2 separate regions of the Homo sapiens genome follow, and region 1 is linked to region 2. Evidence: promoter capture Hi-C in 16 types of primary human blood cells and fetal thymus (Javierre and others, 2016). All regions are on one chromosome and are shown on one strand. Each heading gives the region's core, a stretch centred on a gene start or on the middle of the fragment in contact. The rest is flanking DNA. Distances are from core to core; before and after follow the strand shown. Region 1 holds the start of ISCA1 (iron-sulfur cluster assembly 1). Region 2 holds the start of SLC28A3-AS1 (SLC28A3 regulatory antisense RNA 1).

The links. The method cuts DNA at HindIII sites, captures the fragments that hold promoters and counts their contacts. A CHiCAGO score of 5 or more calls a contact.
Region 1: a fragment that was not itself captured here is called in contact with the fragment with the promoter of SLC28A3-AS1 in region 2 in 1 of 17 cell types (naive B cells); the score reaches 5.8 in naive B cells.

Annotation. Positions count from the first base shown.
Region 1 is chr9:86,276,074-86,282,618 of GRCh38, forward strand. It overlaps ISCA1 (iron-sulfur cluster assembly 1), which reads right to left and starts at 6,465. Exons shown (of 4, transcript NM_030940.4): 1 at 6,305-6,465. The coding sequence starts at 6,385. It overlaps LOC124902194 (a long non-coding RNA gene), which reads right to left and starts at 6,008. Exons shown (of 2, transcript XR_007061634.1): 1 at 5,896-6,008; 2 at 2,144-5,380. RefSeq lists a silencer at 5,846-6,145 and an enhancer at 6,316-6,465. The HindIII fragment of the contact is 1,224 bases long and covers 3,886-5,109 here.
Region 2 is chr9:84,274,044-84,280,288 of GRCh38, forward strand. SLC28A3-AS1 (SLC28A3 regulatory antisense RNA 1) reads left to right here and starts at 4,127. Exons shown (of 2, transcript XR_001746802.1): 1 at 4,127-4,356. It overlaps SLC28A3 (solute carrier family 28 member 3), which reads right to left. Exons shown (of 18, transcript NM_001199633.2): 16 at 5,932-6,030; 17 at 5,222-5,342; 18 at 1,414-4,301. The coding sequence ends at 4,175. RefSeq lists enhancers at 2,661-3,212, 3,345-4,544. The HindIII fragment of the contact is 13,311 bases long and covers 1-6,245 here.

The DNA of each region.
Region 1 (6,545 bases), core at 3,248-5,747, 2.0 Mb after region 2:
GAAATAATTATATAACTCATCAAAATATACAATCAGTGGGAGCCCTGAGCTTGTTTTTCTGCAACTAGATGGCCCCATCTAGGGGTGATGAGAGACAGTGACAGATCATCAGGCATCATTCTCATAAGGAGTGCACAAACTAGCCCCTCACACCTGCAGTTCAGACTAGGGTTTGTGCTCCTATGAGAATCTAATGCCCCTGATGATCTGACAGGAGGTGGAGCTCGCTTAGGTGGTAATGCTTGGCTTGCCTGCTGCTCTCACCTCCTGCTGTGAGGCCCTGTTCCTAACAGGCCATGGACCAGTACCAGTCTGTAGCGCAGGGACTGGGGACCCCTGTTCTAAGTGATTGTCAATAAAAGCTAGCTTTCTTATCAACCACATGTAAATTTTCACCATATTTTCCTATGTGCATGCTGAAGAAATTAATCACTTACTGTCAAATAAAAATAGCTTTCTGTAAGTTTATTTTAAAAAGGCATAGCCTGGCTGGGCCTGGTGCCTCATGCCTATATTCCCAACACTTTGGGAGGCCGAGGTGGAAGTATCACTTGAGGTCAGCCAAGGTGGAAGGATCACTTGAAGTCAGGAGTTTGAGACCAGCCTGGCCAACATGGTGAAACCCCGTCTCTATTAAAAATACAAACATTAGCTGAGGATGATGGCATGCGCCTGTAATCCCAGCTACTCCGGAGGCTGACGCATGAGAATCGCTTGAACCCAGGAGGCGGAGGCTGCAGTAAGCCGAGATCATGCCACTGCACTCCAGCCTGGGAAACAGAGTGAGACTCTGTCTCAAAAAAAAAAAAAAAAAAAAAAAAAAGGCATAGCCATGGAAAATATCCGCGGGAACTAAAATCTGAAACGTGGTCTTGGTTTAATCTGAGTGGATCAAAGGCACAGATGGGCACACCACTGCATGATCTAAACAAAACAAATGTGTCTGTCACACTACTCCGTTTACCAGCCCCAAATATATAATTTTTTTTATCTCCAAGTGGTTTTCTAAATTATCTAATTTGGTTTTACAAAGTCATCTATTTTCTTATTTTCTCAACTTTTAGCAGGAAACACTTAAATACAGTAAATGAAAGCAATTCGTGGGGATTGGTCTACTTATCACCAAGTTGCTGATGTTCACATCTCATACTGAAGGACTCTTTAAGGGAAAAGTAACATTCAACAGGAACCTGTGTGCCTGGGAAGCTGCTGTTACAGGAACTAAAATATGTCTTAATTTTCCTGTGCCAGGCCAAAACCAAACCTACTCCACTGGGAGGGTGTTACTAATGATGGACAACCCAGGTCAGTACTCAACCAAGGGAAAAGGTTCTTAGAACTTTCAAAGTGACTGATCTGATTTTCAGAACAAGGGAGAGTGGTTAAAAGGGAAGAGTTGGGACTTAAAAAAAATCGAGCTATAAGAGGTACTTTTTGTGTCTCAGTACCAGGGAGAGGCTAAGAATCCTACCCTGCTTTAAGTCTACATACTCTGGCAACTTTGTGCTTAGGTAAAATTCATGTGAGAAACAGCATAAAATCTTCAACTACACAGCATGCTGCAGGGCCTAGCAGCCTGCCAGTACCAGTGCACTTCCCAGAACAACTAAGAAACATGTAATTCTCAAGAAATTTATGTACTATTAATGAATATAGCTTACCTGAGATTTGGCCCATGTTTTAAAATTTAAGAGCTTCCTGAAGCCCACTAAAATATGATGGTTTTTACTCACATGCAAATCACAGGAATATGACTTTTAAAGTGAGAGGTTATCTTTGAGGTAAGGTATTTTGGCCTAATTGAAAAATAAATATATTTCCAAGATGTTTCCGCTGTTAAAATTAAGGGAAAAGGCATTGTAGATGAATGTTTTATCACTACTTCATAGCAACACGCTTTCTAATCCTTGTAGGAGAAACTTTTCATTCTCAATCCTGTATTTCTTTAAGTAACTCCCCAGGCAATTTTCATTTTTTGCTGTTTAAGAAAATTAAATTAAATTCAAAGCTAAAGTTAACTCTGTGATTATGCATACTAAACATGTGCCAACAACTACAACTTAATTTCTCTACAAACATGGCATTTTAATGTCAACATATCAATTTTCTGGGGGAACAAAAGATGGTAAATAAATAGAGCCAGTGAACAAGTACAGTGTATTTTATTAAAATCATTCTTTAACAGCCATGGCTGGCATTAGAGTGTCAAAATAAGAAAAGACAAAAGCATTCTCTTTTGTCTTTTCTTATTTGTGTATATGTGTATATACACATCCAAAATACATATAATATACAAATATATATTTGTAGGCCAGGTGTGGTGGCTCATGCCTGTAATGCCAGCACTTTGGGAGGCCAAGGTGGGAGGACGGCTTGAGGCCAGGAGTTTGAGACCAGCCTGTGCAACAGAGCAAGACCCTGTCTCTACAATAAATTAAAAAAAAAAAATTAGCAGTCAAGGTGACATGTGCCTGTAGTCCCAGTTACTTGGGAGGCTGAGGTGAAAGGATTGCTTGAGCCCAGGAGTTTGAAGCTGCAGTAAGCCATGATCATGCCACTGCATATGAGCCTGGGTGACAGAGGAAGATCCTGTCTCTAAAAAGAAAAAGGTTTGTAATCATGGCATATATACATAATTTTGCAGCCTCCATTGAAACAATTTAACAAATTATTTTTTCATTTGATACATGGTAATAAACATATATTCACCATTTACTGAGCACCTTCTAAGTGTTTAATGGTTTAAACGTAACATCTTTTTATTCCTGCCATTGTGATTTAGGTATTAAAGATTAAATAATTTGCACAGCATAAGTCAAAGAATGAAGATTTATAACGCTGAAACTTAAAAAAAACCATAATTTACAATGACTACATCCTTCACCAACAGGATCTACTCTCACGTACTTAACCGTTCTTTCACTGTTAGACTGCTAGGCTACTTCCAGTGCTTCTTGTGTAGTATTTCCTAAACTGCCTTCGTATAGAAATCTTAGTGCTTGGTCACTGTTCAAAAGGACTTCTGGTTCTAGTCCAATGAACTAACACACAGTTCCTTACTGAGCATTAAGCATTTCCTAGCTTCTCAACTGGACTCCAATAGAAAGTTAAGCCCTAAGGCACCTTCCGTACACAATGAATTCATCAAGAATGATAGTGGCTGTGCACCATCATTCTCTCATAGAACTTGGTTGAGTTTTAATGCACAGCTGTGATCCACCCCAGTCCTACAAATTAGAGTTGCTCTGACTTGTACAATGATGGAAATAAATCTGTCTGCAAGCAGGGCACTATTTACTCTTCAGATTCTTTAATCACATCTGGCTCCTGCAAGTTCAATTCCACTTGTCAATTTCTAGATATGTAGGGAAATAGGGAAGATGTAGATAATCTGATAATGACAGCATTGAACTGTGTTATATTATCAGTTACTTTTCCTAGCCTTTTGTTGACATCTGGTAGACTCCACACATATAGCACTTTTCAAATGTTGCAACATGTCAAATTCCTAACATCAAAATTTATATATCCAGGTAACATTTATCCCTTCCAATCAGTTTTACTGAATTAGGTATACTTGTGTTTGCTCTTATCTGTCTCTACTTATTAGACCCAAGTAACATTTACCTCTTCCAATCAGTTTTACTGAATTACGTATACTTTTGTTTGCTCTCTTATCTGTCTCCATTCATTAGGCCTTTGACGGCATCACTACTTTTGCACTTGACGATACATGCTGATGATAAACTAAGCACAAAGAGCAATACATGCCATAGTGTCCTGACTAGGGCACGAATGCTGGAACTAAAATGACTGCAAGCCCACCAACACAGGCTGTGTGGAAAACAGCATTGATGTGCCTTCTCTCTGGTACAGCTTCTGAGAAGCTTCTAAAGTCAGCCATACTTAAGTAGGACAACAGAGTACAGACAGTAGACTCCTGCAAGTTAATCAAAACAGCTGAGTCAGGCAACATGGATACCTTGAGAACTGCTATGATAACATGTACTGAAGCAGAGGGGAGCAAGTGTGGAGAGAGACCAAGCCTGAGAATGTGCAGTGCTATTACTCCTAGTAAGAGGTGGCAAAGGCTTGGCCTGCGACTGTGCCCCGTAGGCTGGGAACTGTATAACTCATTCATTTGTCTTGAAACACAGCAGATCTTGATAAATGTCTGCTGAATGACTAGGAATGGAGAGAAAGGGACTGACATAGAAATTCTGAAGGAAGGGCAAGGCACGGTGGCTCATGCCTGTGATCCCAGCACTTTGGGAGGCTGAGACGAGTGGATCACGAGGTCAGGAGTCCAAGACCAGCCTGGTGAAGATGGTGAAACCCCATCTCTACTAAAAATACAAAAATAAATAAATAAATAAGCTGGGCATGGTGGTGGGCGTCTGTAATCCCAGCTACTCAGGAGGCTGAGGCAGAGAGTTGCTTGAACTCAGTAGGCAGAGGCTGCAGTGAGCTGAGATCACGCCACTGCACTCCAGCCTGGGCAACCCAGCGAAACCCTGTCTCAAAAAAAAAAAAAAAAAAAAGAAATTCTGAAGGAAGAGGTAACATGTCAAATGGTGATGGAGAAAGACATCAGGGACCAGGCATGGTGGCTCACACCTGTAATCCCTGCACACTGGGAGCCTGAGGCAGTGGACTGCTTGAGCCCAGGAGTTCGAGACCAGCCTGGGCAACCCAGGGAGACCCTAGGTGCATGCATGACGGTGCACACCGGTGGTCCCAGCGACTTGGGAGCCTGAGGTGGGAGGATCGCTTGGGCCCAGGAGGTTGACGCTGCAGTGTGCCATGATTGCACCACTGAACTACAGCCTGGGAGATAGAGTGAGACCCTGTCTCCAAAAACAAAACAAACAAAAACAAACAAACAAACAAAAAACAAAAAACAAAAAACCCAGTTAATAGGGTTGCTAAAAAGCAAAAAAGAAAAGGCAAAAACTGTTCCTGAACCTTCTGGCTCTTCCTGGATCTACCATTACCAGTGGAAGAATTCTGAATAATTCTTACTGAGATTGAAAGAGACACAAAGAATGAGTTGTGCCCTCTAGTTCTTAAAACCTTGTTTAATTCTACATCCCACGGTGTATGAAAATAAGCTTGCTCCTACAGAAAAGAGGTAATATAGAATGATACATAATCAGTACACTAGTAGTACCATATATAATCAGGGTAATATCAAAGGCCTAAAAAATTGATTATAAAAATAAATTCTCTCACCTGATCACAATTTTCTTCTACTTTGCTACAAACTTATTTTCTGGTAATAGGCCCTTTTGGCATTAGATGCAACAGAATCGATGAGTCAATTTAAATCGTTTTTTTTCCCAGTCTCTAAGCGAATGGTTGCATAAAGTCGTCTCCTTCACTAAAAGGGGAGTGTATGTAGGAACGTGATCATAAATTTTTCTTTTGGGGTGAAAGTATTTTGGAACTAGATAGAGGTGATGGTTGCACGACACTGTGAATGTCTTAAATGGCACTGAATTGTACCCTTTAAAAGGACTAATTTTATGTTATGTGGATTTTCCTTCCACTAAAAAACTGAACGGTGCGGCCGGAACACTGAGCTCAGTGAATTCTCTAAGTAATCAATGGTTGCACTCTGGTGCCCTCTGAGTGTTTGACCTTTCACCCAGAAAAGGCTGTAAACTCACTCTGGGAAATCATCTTTTGTCCTAAGAGCCTAGGCTTGCTAGAGGCACAGAGGGAGTTTCAAAGGCCTCAATCACCCAGGACACCGGCAAGTAACGCTTTGCGCGCCGCGGCCGTGACCTCGGCAGGAGCCGGGGGCTTTGTTGTCGCTGTGCTCGCCCTCTGCGAACGCTGTCGCCCCGACACAGCGGTCCTTCGGACAGCCTGGTCCCTCCCCACCCCACGCACCTCCAGGCTAGGACTCCGGGCCACCACCGGGAACCCCCGCCACCGGGCACGTTCAGCCTCTGCTTAACCGGAACGGCCGAACAGCGCAGGCCGGCAGGAGTGTGGAGGCGATCGGCCCCCGGGGACGCCCACCCCCGGGATCCCCTCCGGCCCGCACGCGGTTGCCGCGCGGCCTGACGGGAAACGTAGTTTCCGGGGCCAAGAGAGCAGCCCCGCCCGGGACTTGTTTATCGTTGCAAAGAGGGGCCGGAGGCGAAGGAGGCGGCGAGGCTGTGCGGCGGGTCGGAGCGACGCCGAGGTCTGACGTGTCCGCGTCCCTGCGGCCCCACTCCCGGCCGCCGTGACCTCCCCTTGCACGGGGCGGACACGAGCAATGTCACGGGCCCCGCCGCGCGCCGCGAGCACTCACCAGGGTGAGGGCTGCCCGGGTGGGCTGCAGCTTCCTCTTGCTCACAGCCCGGACAGTTGCCCGGACTAAGGAAGCCGACATCTTCGCCGTCCCGGCGCCCCGGTGCCTCGGGCCGAAGGTCGGCCGCCTCAGCTTCTCTCCATGGACACGGCGGGCGCATTGACGCCACAAGCTTCGGCGCACGGCGCCCTCAGTCCTAGCCCCGCCCCCCGCCGCCACCATTGGGTGAGTTGCATGAGTG
Region 2 (6,245 bases), core at 2,877-5,376:
TGCTCTTGGCCATAGTGATCTGTGGGTTTGCCAGTTCTGCATGACCAGAAGGTGGAAGGAGAGATGAAGCATTTCTGAATGACCTAAGGTTTTCCTATCCTCTTATTTTATGAATATTATTGGAAGCATGGCCAGTACTTGGAAGAGGTAGGCTCTAATTCTTTGTGTTCATATGGCTTGTAAGACTTCAGTTTTTTCCTAATCCTGGTTTCTCATGGCAAAGTGGTTGGTTGTCAGTGGCCAGAGGACTAAATTTCAAGGTTGTCACTTGAGTACTTTTCTCTGTTCTGTGGCTATAGGCTATATCCCTAATACCAGCCACTGTCCTTCCATTTTGCAAAATGCATAATGGTTAAGAAGGGCTGACTTGATGTAGGTTCACTGTTTAATCTCCAAAGTTTCCTGGAATGAAAATGCAAAGTAGCCCACTAATAAACAGGTTTAAAGTACTCATTCTATAACCAAGGAGCAGTCACATTGCCTTTGTGATATAAAGGAAAATATCATTGTCATCACAAGGTTGTGTAGTTTTTAGAGCTAGAAAAAGAAAAGTCTACGCTTTTCTTCCTGCTTGAGCTTAAAACAAAATTAAGTAACAGGCTGTAAAGAGCAGCCTTTCTTTGGACCATATGGTTCATTAGCACCACATGGTGTACCTGTACCAGAGACAGTTATTGAGTCCTACGCTCCTACCTTTGTAAAATGTGAGTGATTGCCTCCCCTTGCCCCACTCCCGTACAGTCAGGGTAACTTAATCCTTCCTGGCACACTGTGTCCTTGTTGGCTTATAATACCTTCTTTATAAGCATACTTGATTTTTGGAATTGTTCTGTAACTGGAAATCAGTCTTATTGGACAAGTGCACATCTTAAGCTGTTCACAGTGCCCTACCAGCCTAATTAAACTACAGAAATATGAAAGCAATCAAGTGGGAGCATTTGCAAAATGAATGCCTGTTAGTAATCTGCATAGTTACAGAGACTGTCACTTAGACCTAACTGCTGGGATATGTTGACTTTACCAATGGGAAGAAAAAAAAATCAGACAATGCTGTGTATCCCATGACTCAAATCTATTTTTGGCTGAGACCCTAAGGCCTCTCCAGGGTCAGAGAATTTGTTTATAACCAGTTTCTGGATTGCGAAGAGAAATATCATTTCTGCCCCTCTCCCTGTTTTTTGCAAACCAATAGAAAACAACACGGAGAATAAGCAGCAGTAAACTTCCATCTTCATTGAAATGAGGAAACACTCATATCTGGAACCATAATACTGTATACCAAAAGGGGCTTTCAGGTTAGCGAAAACTACCAGTGGGAAGACACAGGCGGCTAGGGGCTTTGGATTTCATGGGTGGACTGGACAGAGTACGGAGTTCTCCCAGGGAGATGTTGCAGCCCTGGCTTGAGGCAAGGTTGGGGAGCACAGACCAACAGCAACAATCTGTCAACAGTGAGCGGGCTCAAACAGCTGAAAAACATAGGCATGCCATCTTTGCCCACTATATGTACATGGGTGAAGGAGAAACTGGGGAAGACAAGCAGCCTCCAGCTTCTATGTCTACTAAAGAGGAATAAAAACATCACCATGCACCAAAAACCTCCATTAGGTTGTTTCACTGGGAGAAGGGCCACTTACGACGTTCACAGGGTATTGGTGAGGTTTCTGGGGGTAACAAGCTCAAGAGGCTTAACCAGCTCATTTTCCTGGTCCTTGGCCTTTACTATCCTCTTATAATATAGCTCAGGAATAACACCCCCTTTCTCAGTTCAAGGATGCACAGCATTAATAAGGAATCAACGTAGGACCTATGTGAACATGTTGCATTTATAAAGAAATGTCACACGTACACACAGAAAGGTCATATCAAAGCAGGTAAAAATTAAGACAACATATTTCTCCAAAAACCAGTCTGACATCTTATAATACCAGAAATATACACACACTTCAAACCTGGGAAATCATCCTATGAATCTGCTCTGACCAATATGGTAGCCACTAATACCTGAAATATGGAGTAACCAAGTAACAAATTTTTAAATTTAAAACTGATACTCATTTCAGTTATTGGAAAACTTTTAAGCACATTTAGACCAACATGGGTATGTAAATTTACTTTGCAAATTTAGATTTTATGAAATCTAAACATGGATTAAGTATTATCAGTAAAACTTTAGTGTCTCAACTGAGATATGCAAACCAGACAGACTTAGTTTCATAAGAATGAAAAATATCTTACTGAAATAATATCTCCAATGTATTGAGTTAAATATATTAAAATTAATTTTACTTGTTTTTTAGCGTGGCTACTAGATCTTAAATTACATGTGACTTGCATATGTCTATCAGACACTATTGCTATAGAAAAAAAAGCACCAGCATGCAAAGTAAATGTACATGCACTGTCCAGAGTAGGAAAAAGAGAACCCCCAAACCAAAACCTGTAAACAAAGTAAATGCATGTCCACAGAGGAATGGTATGATACATAAACATAACATTCTGTGGGGTATGATGAACCAGGACACCAAACATTGAGAATGGGGGGAAAACATGCAAATATATTTTCCTAAAATAAAGTCTGAAGACTGCAAGGGCACATTGAGCTCCAAGGAAAATTGATACAAATAATAAGAAATATTTTAGTATATCATACTTCAGGGATAAACAGTCCTCTGGACATTAGGCCTCCTCCTTCACCACCACAAAAAACAAAACACACAAAAAACCCCAACTATTTTCACATAGCTTTTTCTTTTAAATTACTCTTGTACACAAACAGAAGGAAAAATAGAAACAAAATAAATTACTTAAGGTATTTCAAAACCTTTTTCACATTCAGTGTCTGTTTCTTGACTTGGTAATTGATGTTTGTGTTTTCTCACAGCATGTGGTCTTCATGCTATTAAGAGCAGTGGTGATGGGCATTTCGTTAAAGAGCACACCACCATTGTCTCTGGAATCTTTTTCTTAGACACTGACACCCATTCTTCAAGTTTGATACTGATGCCATCCTGGTCAATGAAATTATCAACGCAAGGTTTTCAGAGCTCAACCAGGACTTTTTTTCCTCAACTGCTTCTTACACGGCTTTTGATTGAAGAGTAGCTGCTTTGTCACCAGGAATACATTACCAAATGTGCAGATGAATAGGCCTACCGTTATGGCCTACAACAGGATGGCTCCTTGAAGGGAGACATGGATATTATGTACCCTTATGGTGTATCATATTACTTCTGCAAAATATTCACTATCCCTCCCTATGACAGGATAATTTAACTGTGGTGACTGACATCGTGCCTGTCACAGGACTTGTTTTGGCTAATGGAATGTCATGGAAGTAAAGGGTATCATTTCCTAGCGGAAGATGAAAGAGCCATCATGTGGTTCCCACCTTTCTTTTCCCTCTTAAGACCAACATGCCCCCCTTAGAGGCTGCTCCTTTAGACTGGGTGCTGAAGCAATATGGATTACAACCAAGATGGATCATTACAAACATGTGAGTGAAAAATAAATCTGTAAGCCACTGAGGTTTTTGGGTTGTTTGTTTCTGTAGCGTAATTTATGGTTAAACTGACTGATAGAACTCTTAAGCAGAATGGATTTAAACCCTGGTTTTGGTATGATCCACGTGTTCTCCTCAAGGACTCTTGATTTCTGCAGGACTTCCTGAGGGTAGTCAATGAGTTGGTGATTGATGACTAGTTTTCCCTTATGTGAGATTCAAGTTCAGGCTATTTCAGGTAAGCCAAGGTATATGCAGAGTGACCTCACCTGAGATGTGCTTAAACTGAGTCACCCTGGACTACTTAGTGGACACTAAGTGGGTGTGGGTGAGTCAGAGCCCAGTTGTTGGGAGCGGCCGTTTATAGCTGTATTCTGGTGAAATGCCTTGCAAACATTAAAGTCAGAAAATCCCATTGAGACTGGAATCAACAACACCTCACTTTGGGACATCATAGCAGTTCTTGGTGGGGAAGGGGCTGGTGGGGAGGGAGGGGAGGAGGAAAATGTTGTAGCTTTGAAGGTCCACTCTTGTTTTTCTTCATTCCTTGCAATTAAAGCTGATTCCATTATGGAAGCATCAATCTGTGGACAATAGCTTCTTTTTTTTTTCTTTCCAAAGCAGAAAATTCAGCATCTGTACTTCAGAGTTCCACTGGAGAAGTGGCTGACCTCAAAATGTATTAGAGATCCCATTGCAGTTAAAGGTCGATGGATTCAACAATGTGCAGCAGCCCTTCAAAGAATACAGACTGTGGTTTCCTCCTGGGATGACTTCACCAGGACCCTTGGCAACAGTGCTGGTGGAAAGTGGAAAGAAACAGTTACATGAGCCATAGATGGCAGAAACAGTAGGTGAGCAGACAATGACATTAAAAATAGTTCAGGGCAGGAAGCTGATTTTCTTGCTCACATTCTGGTTAGGGTGGATTAAAGGACAGAGACACTGGGGAATTTGTTTTGGCTCCTAAATTCTGGGTGTCCTCAAGAACTTTCCCTATTTCCTCCATAACAAGCAAAGATAGGATAGAATCAATCCTTATAAAACACTTGCACATTAAGGATGGCACCTTGTGTGGGAACACTGATTTTGCAAATTAAAACTGTACAGGGTGGGGGTGGCTGGCATGGGTCACTGGTAGTTTCTTGTTCACCATAGACGATCATCGTGTTGTCTGGACAGCCTGGATCCCCTTGAAGGGGAGCCAGCAGAGGGTAGCAGTTAAGGGCATAGGCTTAGCAGGAAGATCAGCCTGAATTTTGTATCTCACTTGTACTTGTGCTAATTTTGCTGGAGTAGACATAGCTTCCCTAAGCCTTAATTTTGTGGAATGAAAAAAAAAAAAAAAAGATAGTGCCCAACTTATACAGTAGTTGCAAGGTTTAAGTGAGCTAATTCATACAAAGTGCGTAACACACAGCTGGGTGCATATTAAATGCTTGAGTAGCACTAGCTAGTGTTATAGTTGCTAGCCTTATCTGAGAAAAGTCAGAGTGAAAGGTGGTTAGAATCACTGCATAAGTTCTTACTTTTAAATAGAGTCATAAAGTTATAAAATTAAGTCGATGAGTGAGCGGAGATTGCGCCACTGCACTCCAGCCTGGGAGACAGAGCAAGACTCCGTCTCAAAAAAAAAAAAAAAAAAGTAAGTGGATATTTAGGTGTGATTTGATTGATTATTAATGGAGTATAAAGAAATTATAATCAAGAATACAATACCTGCTCAACAGACTTTGGCAACAAGCTATCACCTTGGTTGTGTTTCCAGGGAAAGTGGAGTTGAAGGCATTCTCTAAAACGTGATGGCAGTTGATGTCCACAGGAGTGCTGGAGAGTATGCCTAGAAGTGGAACAGAGTCCCATTTATTTATTATTTTTTAGTTTTATTTATGTATTTATATATTTATTTATTTAGAGACAGAGTCTTGCGCTTTTGCCCAGGCTAGAGTGTAGTGGCATGATCTCTGCTCACTGCAACCTCTGCCTCCCGGGTTCAAGCGATTCAAGTGCCTCAGCCTCCCAAGTAGCTGGGATTACAGGCACGCACCCAGCTAATTTTTGTATTTTTAGTAGAGATGCGGTTTCGCCACGTTGGTCAGGCTGGTCTCAAACTCCTGACAGCTGGTCTCAAACTCCTGACATCAGGTGACCCGCCCGCCTTGGCCTCCCAGTGTGCTGGGATTACAGGCGTAAGCCACTGCACCCGGCCCCATTTATTTTATTAATTAAGGAAGTCACTGAACCCTCATTCTGTTCTTAGCTCCTCCACCACACTGCACACATTTAACTTTACAGTATGCTTAAGAGCAGCTCTAACTCTCAGCTTTCTGTGGCAGCGTGTGCTGCACATGCAAGCTGGAGGCACTGCCTGTCCTGAAAGCTGCCATTCATCCTGTGGGCACTGGGACACAAAGGACAGGGTGCGGTACCTGCGATGCAGGCTGTCATGAAGCAGGCCACGGTCCCCGCAATCAGAGCTCTCACTGCCCCCGAGGCGATATCACGCTTTCTGGAAGGAGCCATGGATGCTGGGAAACATGGAAGGAGGGATGTGAGATCAATGTTGAAGTACTGATTAAAACTCTTAGCCTCTGAAAATTGTTCTGAGGCTGGGCTCAGGTCAGCTGACTTTTTTTTTTTTTTCTTTAACTTAGCTGGGAAATTCAAGATTCAAGAACTTAGTAATAAACTCCACATACAGAGAAATTCTCTGCTGTGGGAAGAAGGGAAGAGGCTTGTTTGC